Regions from separate parts of the Homo sapiens genome. Here region 2 is linked to region 1. The links are contacts of gene promoters, found by promoter capture Hi-C in blood cells and fetal thymus (Javierre and others, 2016). All regions are on one chromosome and are shown on one strand. The core of a region is centred on a gene start or on the middle of the fragment in contact, and the rest is flanking DNA. Distances in the headings are between cores, read along the strand shown.

Region 1 (6,100 bases), core at 525-3,024:
TGGCCAGAATGGTCTCGAACTCCCGACCTCAGGTGATCCAGCCGCCTCGGCCTCCCAAAGTGCTGGGATTACAGGTGTGAGCCCACCATGCCCGGCTGCATTTTATATCAGAATTTAACAGCAGATTTTAACTTAGTCAAAACATGCTTTAGAGTCACCAAAGGAGAATGATGTCTAACAGTGCTGATTTGGGAGTTGGGCACCCTGAGTGTTGGTTGGGCTTTAAAAACTTCATGCTAAACTTCAGGGGAAGTCTCCTCCCCTCTCTCTTCAGTTGTCTTCCGAGATGAACCCTATTACTAATTACTTGACCACCTTTCAAAGTTGCAGTTAAAATTCTTCACATTTTTCTCCCATTTCTATTTAATTAATTATTTTTTTTTTGAGACAGGGTCTCTCTGTTGCCCAGGCTGGAGTACAGTGGCGTGATCTAGTCTCACCGCAACCTCCGCCTCCCGGGTTCAAGCGATTCTCAGACTCCCGAATAGCTGGGGTTACAAGTGTGCGCCATCACACCCGGCTAATTTTTGTATTTTTAGTAGATACGGGGTTTCATCATGTTGGCCAGGCTGGTCTCGAACAACTGACCTCAAGTGATCTGCCCGCCCCGGCCTCCCGAAGTGCTGGGATTACAGGCGTGAGCCACTGCGCCCGCCCCCCATTTCTATTTTAATTAAATTTTATTTAGGATAGGCTTAGCTTAAATTTTTACGACTGAGGTCTGACTTAAGATGATAGCATCAACCATGGAGTTTTCTTTCGTGAACATTATTATTACTAAGCCCAATTTTCCCAGGTCAAATTTTGTAAAACAAAACGTGGTCAAAATTTGATTCTCTGATCGATTTTTTGTAAAAAAGAAAAAAATTACCGTGTAGTTTTAAATGTTGTCAATTAAATTTTGTAATAGTTACCTCTACTCTGTTCAGGTTAATACTGAGGTTTTCAACAAGACCAACATACGATTCTTTTTTTTTTTTTTTTTTTTTTTTTTGGTGGGGTTGAGGGGACATAACAGTTTTTTCACTCTTGTTAAATTAATTTTCTGTTGATTCCATCTATCCTTAATCTTCATTATGAGCAACATACCAGGTTTTCTTCTGAAGATCATATGTGGTAGTGAGGCAATAATGCAAAGACATAGGATGGCAGGGGGATTCCGGCTTCTTTCTTTCTTCCCCTCCTGTGGAAAGAGGGTCTATAACACTCCGTAGTAGATAGGACAATTCTAATTATGAAGGGTAATTAGCTAGGCTCTGCTACAACCGAGAGCCCTGAGAGATTCCTCGACGCTGGCTGCTTTTCTCTTCCTCTCCACCAGAGGCGACAGCCTCTTTCCAAACAGAAACTGGGTTGGAATAGGCCGGTCCGGGGGAACGGCCAGAAGAAAGATCAAAGGTTAAAAACCGCCTCAAAGAGCACAGGTCAATACCCAACTCCTAAGGAGGCCTTAAGCTTTCATCTGCCACGAAACATGAAGGTGACTCCTCCCAATATCAAGGCCGGGGGGCCACTCAGCCTTCCAGAGACCCGGCGGGTCCGAGGCGAGTAACAGGTAACACCTGCTGAGCCGCCGCCGACCGGAAGTGGAAGAGAGCCCGGGACGGGGGTGAGGACAGGCCGCGGCACGCCTGCGCAGTCAGCAGGAGTTGCAGCGCTCATGCGCAGCTGGGCGGTGACAGGGTGACGCTCGGAGCGTGGGCCGCGACTCTCACGGATCCGGTTCCGCCCTCTCGCTGCCGATCCTTCGGAGCGAGCGCCCGAGATCCCTTTCCCAGAGTGCTCTGCGCCGTGAAGAAGCGGCTCCCGGGGACTGGGGGCATTTTGTGTTGGCTGGAGCTGGAGTAACAAGATGGCGTCGTCCGCGGAGTGACAGGGGTCCCTCTGGGCCGGAGCCGGCGGCAGTGGTGGCAGCGGTATCGCCGCCCTAGCTCACCGCGCCCCTTTTCCAGCCCGCGACGTCGCCGCGCAAGCGAGGCAGCGGCGGCCGCCGAGAAACAAGTGGCCCAGCCTGGTAACCGCCGAGAAGCCCTTCACAAACTGCGGCCTGGCAAAAAGAAACCTGACTGAGCGGCGGTGATCAGGTTCCCCTCTGCTGATTCTGGGCCCCGAACCCCGGTAAAGGCCTCCGTGTTCCGTTTCCTGCCGCCCTCCTCCGTAGCCTTGCCTAGTGTAGGAGCCCCGAGGCCTCCGTCCTCTTCCCAGAGGTGTCGGGGCTTGGCCCCAGCCTCCATCTTCGTCTCTCAGGATGGCGAGTAGCAGCGGCTCCAAGGCTGAATTCATTGTCGGAGGGAAATATAAACTGGTACGGAAGATCGGGTCTGGCTCCTTCGGGGACATCTATTTGGCGATCAACATCACCAACGGCGAGGTAATCATCTGGGGTGGGGTTCACGATAACGCTGCGCTTTTACTCATTCCCCCCACCACCACCGTGCACCCCCAAAGTGCTCGGGCCTCTCCTCATCGCACGCACTCGCCAGGGAGTCCAGGGAGCTAGTTTTCCTGGCTTACGAACCTCGTCCGCTGTCTCCCTAAAAGGGTCAAGAACCCGATAGAAAGGTTGGGGGAACTAGTTTCCCACCTTGTTAAACACGTCCCATAAATGTCCCTTAGTCGAGCTTTTTTTTTTTTTAACCGTCTTTTAAGGTGGAAACGGCAAAATCCTCTTTCAGTGATTCCCATGTTTTTTTTTTTTTAATTCTTAATTCTACTGGGCCTCTTGTTCCAATTAGAACAGTTTCCGATCGCCTAGTTCCTTAAAAACCTCTCACTACGTTCAGAGGTTGCCTCTTTTTTCTGGATGAATCATTTTCCTGCACTTTAGAGGACGTACGGATTTCGTCACTACCCCCTGAAGAGGCCTTTGAGGCTGGTTGCCTCGTTTTATAATTACCGAGAGCTTTCTCTTTCCAGCTTTTCACTTCTTCTTGTAGTCGCGACTTGGAGTTTTGCTAATGTCTCCCTCCTTTCCTAAGTGACATTGAATCCGTAGGGATGTTGATGCCATCATCCCCTCTTTCCCCTGCAGGAAGTGGCAGTGAAGCTAGAATCTCAGAAGGCCAGGCATCCCCAGTTGCTGTACGAGAGCAAGCTCTATAAGATTCTTCAAGGTGGGGTTGGCATCCCCCACATACGGTAAGAACCCGGTGCATATAGGCGATCCGCTGAGGGAAGCACGGAATGGGGAAGTGGGTAGAGGCAGGTAATGAGACCAGCTGAATCCGGGTCTTGGTGTTTTAGTTACCTGGGTTCCCTATAGCTGGTGGTTTCCTGTAAGTCAGTCATCTCAATTACTGAGTAAATTTCAGTTTGCCAACTTATTTCATTGTATTACACTGCTCCATTTCGCTTCCGTCATTCTCACTCTTCCCGAGGCTTTCATTTGCAGTTATGCGTGCAGGTCATCTTTGATCCCTACGCGGAAGGGTTGGCTGCTGCCTTTTTTACGGCGGCACTTCTGATGTACTTAGGTTTGTCCAGTGAAGTGGATTTGAAGGTGCCGAAGCGACCCGGCAGTGTCAGTTCGAGTTGCTATTGGAGCTGGCTTGGGAAATGGCTGCTCTTTTGTTGTGTTTTTGTTCCAACATGTCTTCCTCCTCCGCTTAGAAAATGGCGGAACGACGTGACTCAACCCCATATTCCTGCCCTTTTCTCAGCTTGAGTTCACAAATTATGCTTCCTTGATTCCTCCTTTAGCAGCCCCGAGTGGATTAAACCTTTGAAAAGCCAAGAATAAAGCTGCAGGAGGCGGTGTGGAGGTTCGAGGAAGGAGATGGCATAGTGACAGTGTTTGTGATCTCTGCAGCAGATGTGACACGAAATTGTTGAATTACACTATGTAAAATCCTTCGTAGTTCTTTTAAAAGTGTTAATTACTCTTTCTTTTCGTGAATGGTCATATTTGGCACGTTTCAGTCGGGACTAAATTTGTATAGGTAGTGGCAAAGGCAGTTTGAGCAGCACCAACTATGTTAAAATTTACTCATATCAGTTGTATTTAAAAAAATCTTAATCACTTAGCCACACTTTGATAAGTAATTTTAACCTGTTGAGTTTGTCAGTAAATCTTCACATCAGAGAAATTGGGGCCTTTGTTGGTGTGGAATATTGGTGAGTGCAAATAGCAGTAACGAGGATAAAAGATGACGAGATAGACATTGTTCTGTCAAATGGTTAACTTTACTTTGGAGGGTTTTAATGTTTTAACTTTTGGGATTAAAGATCCTCTTCATGGAATGGAGACTAAAATATAGTTTAAAGCCCAGCTATTTTCCAGCAATAATCTAAAATAACATTTGCAAAATTATTCAGAATAGGTAAGAATGGTACTTACTGTTTACTGGAGCCTCTTCTTTAAGACGGAGTTTTCGCTCTTGTGGTCCAGGCTGGAGTGCAATGAATGGCACGATCTTGGCTCACTGCAACCTCTGCCTCCCGGGTTCAAGTGATTCTCGTGCCTCAGCCTCCTGAGTAGCTGGGATTACAGGCGCCCGCCACCACGCCTAGCTAATTTTTGTATTTTAGTTTCACCACGTTGGCCAGGCTGGGCTCGAACTCCTGACCTCAGGTGATCTGCCTGCCTCGGCCTCCCAAAGTGCTGGGATTACAGGCATGAGCCACTGTGCCCGGCTTTTTTTTCTTTTGAAACGGAGCCTTACTCTGTTGCCCAGGCTAGAGTGCAGTGGCGCAACCTTGGCTAACTGCAGCCTCCGCCTCCCAGGTTCAAGTGATCCTCCTGCCTCAGCCTCCCAAGTAGCTGGAATTGCAGAGCTGCACTACTACGCCTGGCTAATTTTTGTATTTTTAGTAGAGCTGAGGTTTTGCCGTGTTGGCCAGGCTGGTCTCCACCTCCTGACCTCAGGTGATCCACCTGCCTCAGCCTCCCAAAGTGCTGGGATTATAGGCGTGAGCCACCGGGCCCAGCCTGTTAGCCCCTTTTTCTATTCCAGTTTGTATTTTTCATGTCTTGAATTAAGGACTGGGTTGCATAGTCTTTACATGGAAACAACTCAAATAAAACTGTCCTTAAAAAGAGTTCCAGCCAGGCGTGGTGGCTCACGCCTGTAATCCAAGCACTTTGGGAGGCCAAGGCAGGCAGGTTACTTTAAGTCAGGAGTTCAACACCAGCCTGGCCAACGTGGTGAAACCTCGTCTCTACTAAAAATACAAAAATTAGCTGAGCATGGTGGCACGTGCCTGTAATCCCAGCTACTCGGGAGGCTGAAGCAGGAGAATAGCTTGAACCCGGGAGTCGGAGGTTGCAGTAAGCTGAGATGGCGCCACTGCACTCCAGCCTGGTGACAGAGCGAGACGCCATCTCAAAAAAACACAAAAAAACACAACAAAAAAAAAAACAAAGTTCCAATGCTGATTTACAGTTTTAATGGAGAATTGAGTGATAAAATGTGCTATTGGTTGTAAATGAGCAAGTAAATCATTTGGAAGAAAGTTGCAAATTTATCTTATGAGGTGAAGATTAAATCTGAGATGATATAGATTTGAAGTTTTTAAATCATTCTTGCCTTTAAAAAAAAAACCTACTATGTGGGAAAATAAGGCCCCTCACCCCTGATTTGCTTTCCATTACTATAGTTTTTCCTAGAATTTCATATAAATGGAATCATACGATATGAGGTCATTTGTGTCTGGCACTTTTCACTTAACATAATGTTTTTGAGATTCATCTATGTTGGGAGATTTTATAAATTTCACAAATCAGGTTAAATTTAATGTATTTGAAATCAGTTTCAAAAAGCATTAAGCATTGTCATTTTTCAGTGCTAAACCCAAGTACAGTACATGTCCTTTTATCTGGTAGCTTTTATTTAAGACCTGATACAGACCCATAAGGGCAATGAGTAATGTACTGAATAAGCACATGAATAAATTAACTTCTGAGCAGAATTATAGTAATAGGTGCCTATTATAAGGTGGTGAGTGCAGAGAGAGTTATGGTAGTTATAAGCTGTCTGTGGGTGAGGCTAAACAGATTAACCTGACTTTCAAGTTAAGGCTTCCTGAGAGATGGGATTTCAGGATCTGGCTCTAAGGAAGAAAGCTTGGTGAACTGGTTTGGTAAGGCATCCAAGAATAGAGT
Region 2 (6,631 bases), core at 2,237-4,736, about 21 Mb before region 1:
CGTGTGTGTGTGTGTGTGTGTGTGTGTGTGTGTGTGGCATTAGATGAAGTAGTAACTTGTGTTTAGAGGTTGCCTTATTGCACAAATATAGTTGCTTTTATACACTGGACTCACCCTCTGCCAATAAGTTGTTCAGTTATGAGAAATGAACAATGTCTGAAACTAAGAAAACAGCAAATTCTCACCTCCTATCTCCAGGGAATGTGCTCTTTGGCTAGAATATATGGCAGAATCAATAGTGAATAAAATATATTGTGGAAACAATAGTGAATGGAATATATGACACTACCAATAGCAATTGTTAAGTTTTTTTTCTTTTTAATTTTTCTTTTTAGGTTTGTCTAGTTGAATGCATCTAAGTTTTATGTGCATATGAAGAATCACTGTTTTCCTATTATACAGATTTGGAAACTGAGATTCCCAGCTTTTAACTCCTTGCCTAAGGTTGCATAGCACAGAAATAGTCATATCAGAAACTGAGCCCTGTCTGCACAGTGTAGCACCTTGTTCAGCCCTGGGTGCCTGACTCACTCACTCCTTGAGGACCCTCTCATGACAACTGTAAAGAGGCAGCTGAAAGAATCCCAGTCTTTGATGGTGGGAGGGGAAAGTGGTTGGAAAGCATTAAAAAAACATGCTCCAGCAGTTCACTGATGTGGGAAATTGTCTGTATTTCAGGTCAACCGTCAGGATAGATTTTGGTCTGCAAAGCCCCAGCTGAGCAAGAATGCAGTGTAGACATATGGGTGCCCAGAGTTTAAAGGAAAATTACTCAGACTCACATTGGAGTTTAAGACCCCTTCATTGCCTCTCCTACTGGGTTGGGGTGACTGGAGCCAGTGGGGAATTACCAACCCTGTGGCTCTCTCTGCATCTCAAGCCTCCAGAGCTGGGCTTCCTTGTTTACTTATTTAGAGCCCAGCAGAGGAAGTGGTAAAGGAAACTAGCTGAGTCGTTTTCTGAGAAGAGACCATATTTGTTCGCAGAGGAAGCCGTTGCTTTCTGGGATCTGGCTACGCCAGAAAAGACATCGGCTCCAACAGGGGTGTTCCACAGGGTAGCTGGGAGTTGGAAGAGCCAAGAACGCCTCCGAGCTCTGGATTTGAGCTTCTCTGCCCATGGGTGAAGCGCCCATGCTCAGCTTGTGAGCTTCTTCCCGGGAGAGCAGCCATGGCACTGAGGAATGTGCCCTTTCGCTCAGAGGTCCTGGGCTGGGACCCCGACAGCCTTGCTGACTATTTCAAGAAGGTAAGCCTTGCTCTTGTGTGAATGGTCATGATGCTAGTGCCCTTGGTGGGCTGAGCTGAGGCTTGACGATGGAATTGGGGCAGAATGTGGGAGGTGTATAAGATAGCAATGGAACCCTATGGCAACTTTACTGGTTGAGTGAGCGCCATATAGACCGCTGAGTTTTCCTGACCATGAGTTCCGGAGAGAAGGATGGGAGCAGAAGCCCTCAAATGAGTATGTGCCTATTATGTGCTAGGGTTTGAATTCGGTGTCTCACAGGCACTGTCCCATTTAGCGCTCCCTACTATGTTGTGAGGTCAGCATTGTTATCCCCTTGACTCAGCTGCAAAATCAGCTCAGGGAAGTGAAATGGTCCGAAGCCCTAGGGACTACATGTGATAGAGGCAAGACTCAAGCCACACCTATCTGGTTTTAAAGTCCATGCTCTGAGATGCAGAGAACTGTTGTAACTGCTAATGAGATCAACGCTACTTACTAGAAAGGGGAGACGTGGTGTCCTGGAGGCAGGAGAAAGAATAGGCAGGGTGGGAGGGCTGGATAGAGGACTATGATGAGCAGTGCCAGACACAGCATTTGGGCTTTCACTGCTCACGACCCTAAGGGGGGTCCTCAAGCTCCCGCCTGGGGCAGTCTCCTTGGAGCCTTATGAGAGTCTTGTGAAGCAGGACAGAAAACTGATGTGAGCCCCAATTTATAGCTATGAAAACTGAGGCCCCTAGAGGAAAAGAGGCTTGTGGCGGTGCTGGGACCAGAGCGTTGCTGTCTTATCTTCTGGACTTAGAGGAAAGGTTGAAGGATCCCTGTGCTTGGTCATTGGCAGAAGGGGACAACGCATCTGCTTGGGCAGATCTCAAGCCACATGACTTAGTTATAGTCCCTCTACCCTGACCATGTGGTAAGATGACTTGTGCGAGACGGTTAAGCTTCTAACACCCTCATCCCTGCAGGCTGGCATCGGATTCTGTTGATATTCCAGACTGTCATAAAGATGAGATTGTAAAGCTAAGATGGTAGAAGTCATCTAATTCAGCTTCGTGTTTTTCCTGGGGAAATTGAGATTCAAGAGGGTAGACGAGGTTCCCTAGGACGTATAGCCAAACCTGGGGTCTATGCATTTCCGAGGCATTTATAGTCACAGCTGTTCTCCCCCAACCTGAAGAAGAAAATGAGAACATGTTGAACTAGGTGTGGTATGGTAGGGGTACAGTTCACAGATCCTGTTTTTTGCCATATTTTGTGCTTTCATTTCTGTTATTTTCCTTCTGCAAGGTCATAATAAACTTAGATTTCAGCAAATATTGTTGCGCAACTGGTTTTTTGAAGGATGTTTCTAAATATCTTGCTCAAATATAGACCAAATAAGATAGGGCAACAAGGTAAAATTTGCCAAGAGGGAATAAAGTGGCATGTTACCTTGATAAGGGAAAAAGAAAGGAATTGAGAATTATGAAGAGAAAGACTTGGGACGGGCTGAGAGGCACAGATAGGCCTAACATTCAGGTGTGACCAGGAGAATTATACAATCCAATTGAGCAACAGAGAATTGATCCCTAAAACTCCCATCAGTACAGGGAGATGGACCACGGGTCAGGGATGGTACAGGAAGACCTCACTGCCTGAGCTGGGGGAAGGGAGAGTTTTCTTCCTGGAGATCTCAGACCCCAGGACAAATCTACAGCACCCAGGCAGGTTCCTTCTTCTGCCATAAATGGACTGAGGGAAGAAACTAGGAGACTGAGGCAAATCTGTGATCCTGGAAGTTCTAGTCCCTCCACAGACTTGGATAGAAACCCTTCAGATTCTGAGTACCTCAGCCCCCTGAAAGAAACTACCAAACGAATGGACCGCAGAGTCATTTGGGAATGGATCTTAGCTGTCAAACATGACATGTAAAGAATTGATCTGCAGATGCAAACTCTACCCAAGTAGTGGGGTCAGGCCTCCCTTGGAGACAGCTCTCGACTCAGCTCTGAGGTCGGACACACTTTACCCTGGCTCTGCCACCTGCTAGCTTGGCGACTTTCCTGTAGTTGCTTTGCCTCTCTGTGCCTCAACTTCCTCATCAGTGAAATAGAGATATGAACAGTAACTAACCCAATGGGTTGGTTGTGAGGATTAAAGCAAATGATGTGTGCAAGGCACTCAGCAGACAAATGGATCCTAATGCGTGTTCCTTCTGCCCTTTTACCTTCTCTATTAACTGGCTCCTAGCTGGGGACACCCATGCAGACTGGTGGGACTTTGCGTCTTCTTGTCTCTGACATGGGTACCTCGTCCTGTGTCTGGAATATAAGCTCCTGAGGACAGAGACCATGTTACATATTTGTTCAATCTCTCCAATTCCTTTTGACTTGCAGGAGAACATCCTTGGGTCGTGCAGTGGAGAGGCACTGGCTCAGAGCTGTGTGTCCTAATCCCAGGTGGGGTCCCAGCTGGTATCCCAGCTCACTGTGTGACCTTAGACCAGCCTCTTTCCCTCTAGAGGCCTCAGTCTTCCTTACTACAAATCCAGGTAACTTTTCTGGACCAGTGCCTACCAATGCTGGATGCCATAGGAATCGTCTAGGGTGCTCCTTAAAAATACAGATTTGAGGTCCACAAGCCTAGATCTTGCTGGAGCAGAATCAAATGCCTGGGTCCCAGTCTGCAGGACTCTCTGCTGATCTAGACACAAAGTTAGCACTCTTCAAAATCATCTGGTTTATCTCATAATGATAACAGTGAGAATGATGAATTAAAGGCAGTTGACTCTTCCAAGAACCACTTACCCCCCACTGCCTGTAGATAAAGGGGATACCAGGGCTCCATAGATGGGATGTGCTTTCAATATCAACTTCTAAGTCAGCTTTCTGAGTGTGATAATCATCCCACCCTTCCAAGCTAAGATTTCATAACAATTGTATTTATTCTTTGGATTTGCTAGCTATAAGATAAAAATATGGCTTAAAATGTGCTCCAAAAGAAGGCTGCCACAAACCATGAGGCCCACCCTTGTGAGAAGAACCTAGGATCCTCAAGGAGAAACATTTAACCTCAAATGCTCCACCCCAAAGCAGCAAGTTGAGAGATACTTCAAATGTGAACATTTATGCTGTTGAGGACAAGTTGAAACTAGCACCTCATATGATTGCTGATTGGTCTAGGAAAATAACCAAGATCTTAAAAATGCTCGTTCCTATGGATCCTATATAACTCGGTTCTGAGGTTCTGACTTAAACAATTTATCTCAAAGAGGGAGAAAAAAGTTCGCAAAATAGTATCCATGATTGTCTCTATTTTGATTGGGATGAGGTACTGCAAACAAATGAAGCTGCATTTTCATTTGCTCATTTTACTTACTGTATATAAGTTATGCTGTAATTAAAAGGGGAATATTTCTGAAAGAGACATTAAAGCCTGTTCTGAAACTTGTCACCTAAAACCCATGGAACCTCATGCAAGTTACTTGCTGTCTGTGCCTCTCATTCCCCATCTGCAAAATGTGAGGGTTAAATGATTGAAGACTAGTTTAACTACTTGGTACACTGCCTGCCACACAGAAAGCTTTCGATAATTGTTCGCCGTTTTTATTATCATTATTGAAACAGCAGCTTGGTAAATAATCTAAATGTTCAGCAATAAGGGCATGATTAAATAATGTTGTGGTCATTAAAATTATTTTAAATTGAGTTTGCATAACACTAGGCAGTGTTTATATTATCCCTTTAGGTAATTTAAGAGAAAAAAGTCAGAATAATGAGATTGAATATAAATCATAACCTCAATTATGTTTAGAAACATGCTAGGAAGAAAGCATGGAAAGAAACACCGAGGTCGTCTCTGGGCATCGAGACAATGGATGGTATTTCTTTTCTTCTTTTAGCTCTCCTTCCTGAGGAGCATAGGGCAGAGCTCTGCATGCCTTGAAGGCAGTCTTTCTGTAAGGGTTGGCCCCGAAGCCTTAGAGCAAGGCAATTTCTCCATTTCAGGCAGTCCCAAGGGGGTAGTGAAAGCGAGGCTGAGGTGGGGACTGGGCCCTCTGTTAGCCAAGGGAGGGCAGTGGGGAGCCTGGCTAGCCACAAGTACCGCAAAGTGCTAAGTTTCTGGGGCAGGCAAGGGAGAGGAACCAATGGTAAGAGACTGCCCGTCACTAACAACACCTTCCCCTTCTCTTTGCAGCTCAACTATAAGGACTGTGAGAAGGCAGTGAAGAAGTACCACATCGATGGGGCTCGCTTCTTGGTAAGCTCTGGCTAGTCCAACACACTGAAACCAAGACTGTTCGGCACTTTTCCCCATGGCTGCAGGGCCAACTGGCCTACCCTTTCCCTGGGGACACCCGAGGATCCCTTTGCTTTTTCCAGAAATTTGGTAGGGCCCCCTCTCTCACTACCTTTCAGGATCCTATCATCCAGAACCCCTCTCTGATCTTCCACTTACACCTTAAGGAGGAATCCAAGTATAGTAAACAAATAATCTGGAAAATCTATTTAAATGCCATCCATCCTTTGAGAAGCCCAAGGGGAAGAAGGACCATATGGGTGAACAGAAGCTTCTCACCTCCAATCTCTCACTCTGGAGCACATACTCATGAGTGGAATAAAGGATGGCATCACCCTCATTGTTTCAATTACTTCCTTCTTTCTCACTACCAAATTCATAAAGCTGATTTTGCATCAAGCACACATGTGATATGGCTGTCTCCACTGTATTATACTTCAAAAAGCTTGAAGTCTAAGACCAAGGTGCAGGTATGTATTAAAGACTAAGCCATTAAAGGGAAAAGGATGCAGCTCTAATGGTGGAGACAGAGGTGCTAGGTTGTGGTCGGGGAGGTGGTTTGAGCATTTTCCCTGAAATGACACCTTTGCCCATGGGTTAAGAAAGACCCTGACTGCACCAATCCATCCTTTCTGGGAACTTTGCTTTACTCTTTGAAAATAAGACTTCAAGGGTCTCATGGGGGTAGATGTTCCTAATTTAAATTCAGAGTGAATAGAGTAAGCTAAGTTGTGTCTCCCTGTAAGACACTGTCAGTAAGGGAACTTGACCATGAGACTTCAGGCCAGTTGGATGAGACCAGAGAGATCACAAGCTCCAGCTTGCCCCCAGAGAACACCAATCCATTTCTTATATTACATCTCTGCTACCAACATCTTCTTGAATTCCTTCAGTGATGGTGAGCTCACCACCACCCACAGTCATCTGCCCCTTTCTAGGCAGCTCTCAAGTCTTGTGCTGAAACTAACCTGTGCTCCTATTGGTCTGAGTTTTGCTTCCAGGTGCCATGTAAGACATGTTTATTCACTGTCCACCTAAATCATTCATTCATTCGCCTATTCGTTCACTTGACAAGCAGTTTCCCGAACTGCTTTTACATACTGGAGAGCATTATAGGTGG

Evidence for each region. The method cuts DNA at HindIII sites, captures the fragments that hold promoters and counts their contacts. A CHiCAGO score of 5 or more calls a contact.
Region 2: a contact is called between a fragment that was not itself captured here and the fragment with the promoter of CSNK1A1 in region 1, in 1 of 17 cell types (activated CD4 T cells). The highest score is 8.0, in activated CD4 T cells.

The regions. Positions count from the first base shown.
Region 1 is chr5:149,547,113-149,553,212 of GRCh38, reverse strand. It overlaps CSNK1A1 (casein kinase 1 alpha 1), which reads left to right and starts at 1,774. Exons shown (of 10, transcript NM_001892.6): 1 at 1,774-2,371; 2 at 3,032-3,138. The coding sequence starts at 2,249. It also overlaps a transcript of ARHGEF37 not described here. RefSeq lists enhancers at 1,197-1,266, 824-1,617, 1,317-1,986, 2,017-2,076, 2,207-2,266 and 4 more. The HindIII fragment of the contact is 4,606 bases long and covers 1,458-6,063 here.
Region 2 is chr5:170,292,151-170,298,781 of GRCh38, reverse strand. LCP2 (lymphocyte cytosolic protein 2) reads left to right here and starts at 1,005. Exons shown (of 21, transcript NM_005565.5): 1 at 1,005-1,248; 2 at 5,410-5,472. The coding sequence starts at 1,171. RefSeq lists an enhancer at 1,823-1,902. The HindIII fragment of the contact is 2,620 bases long and covers 2,177-4,796 here.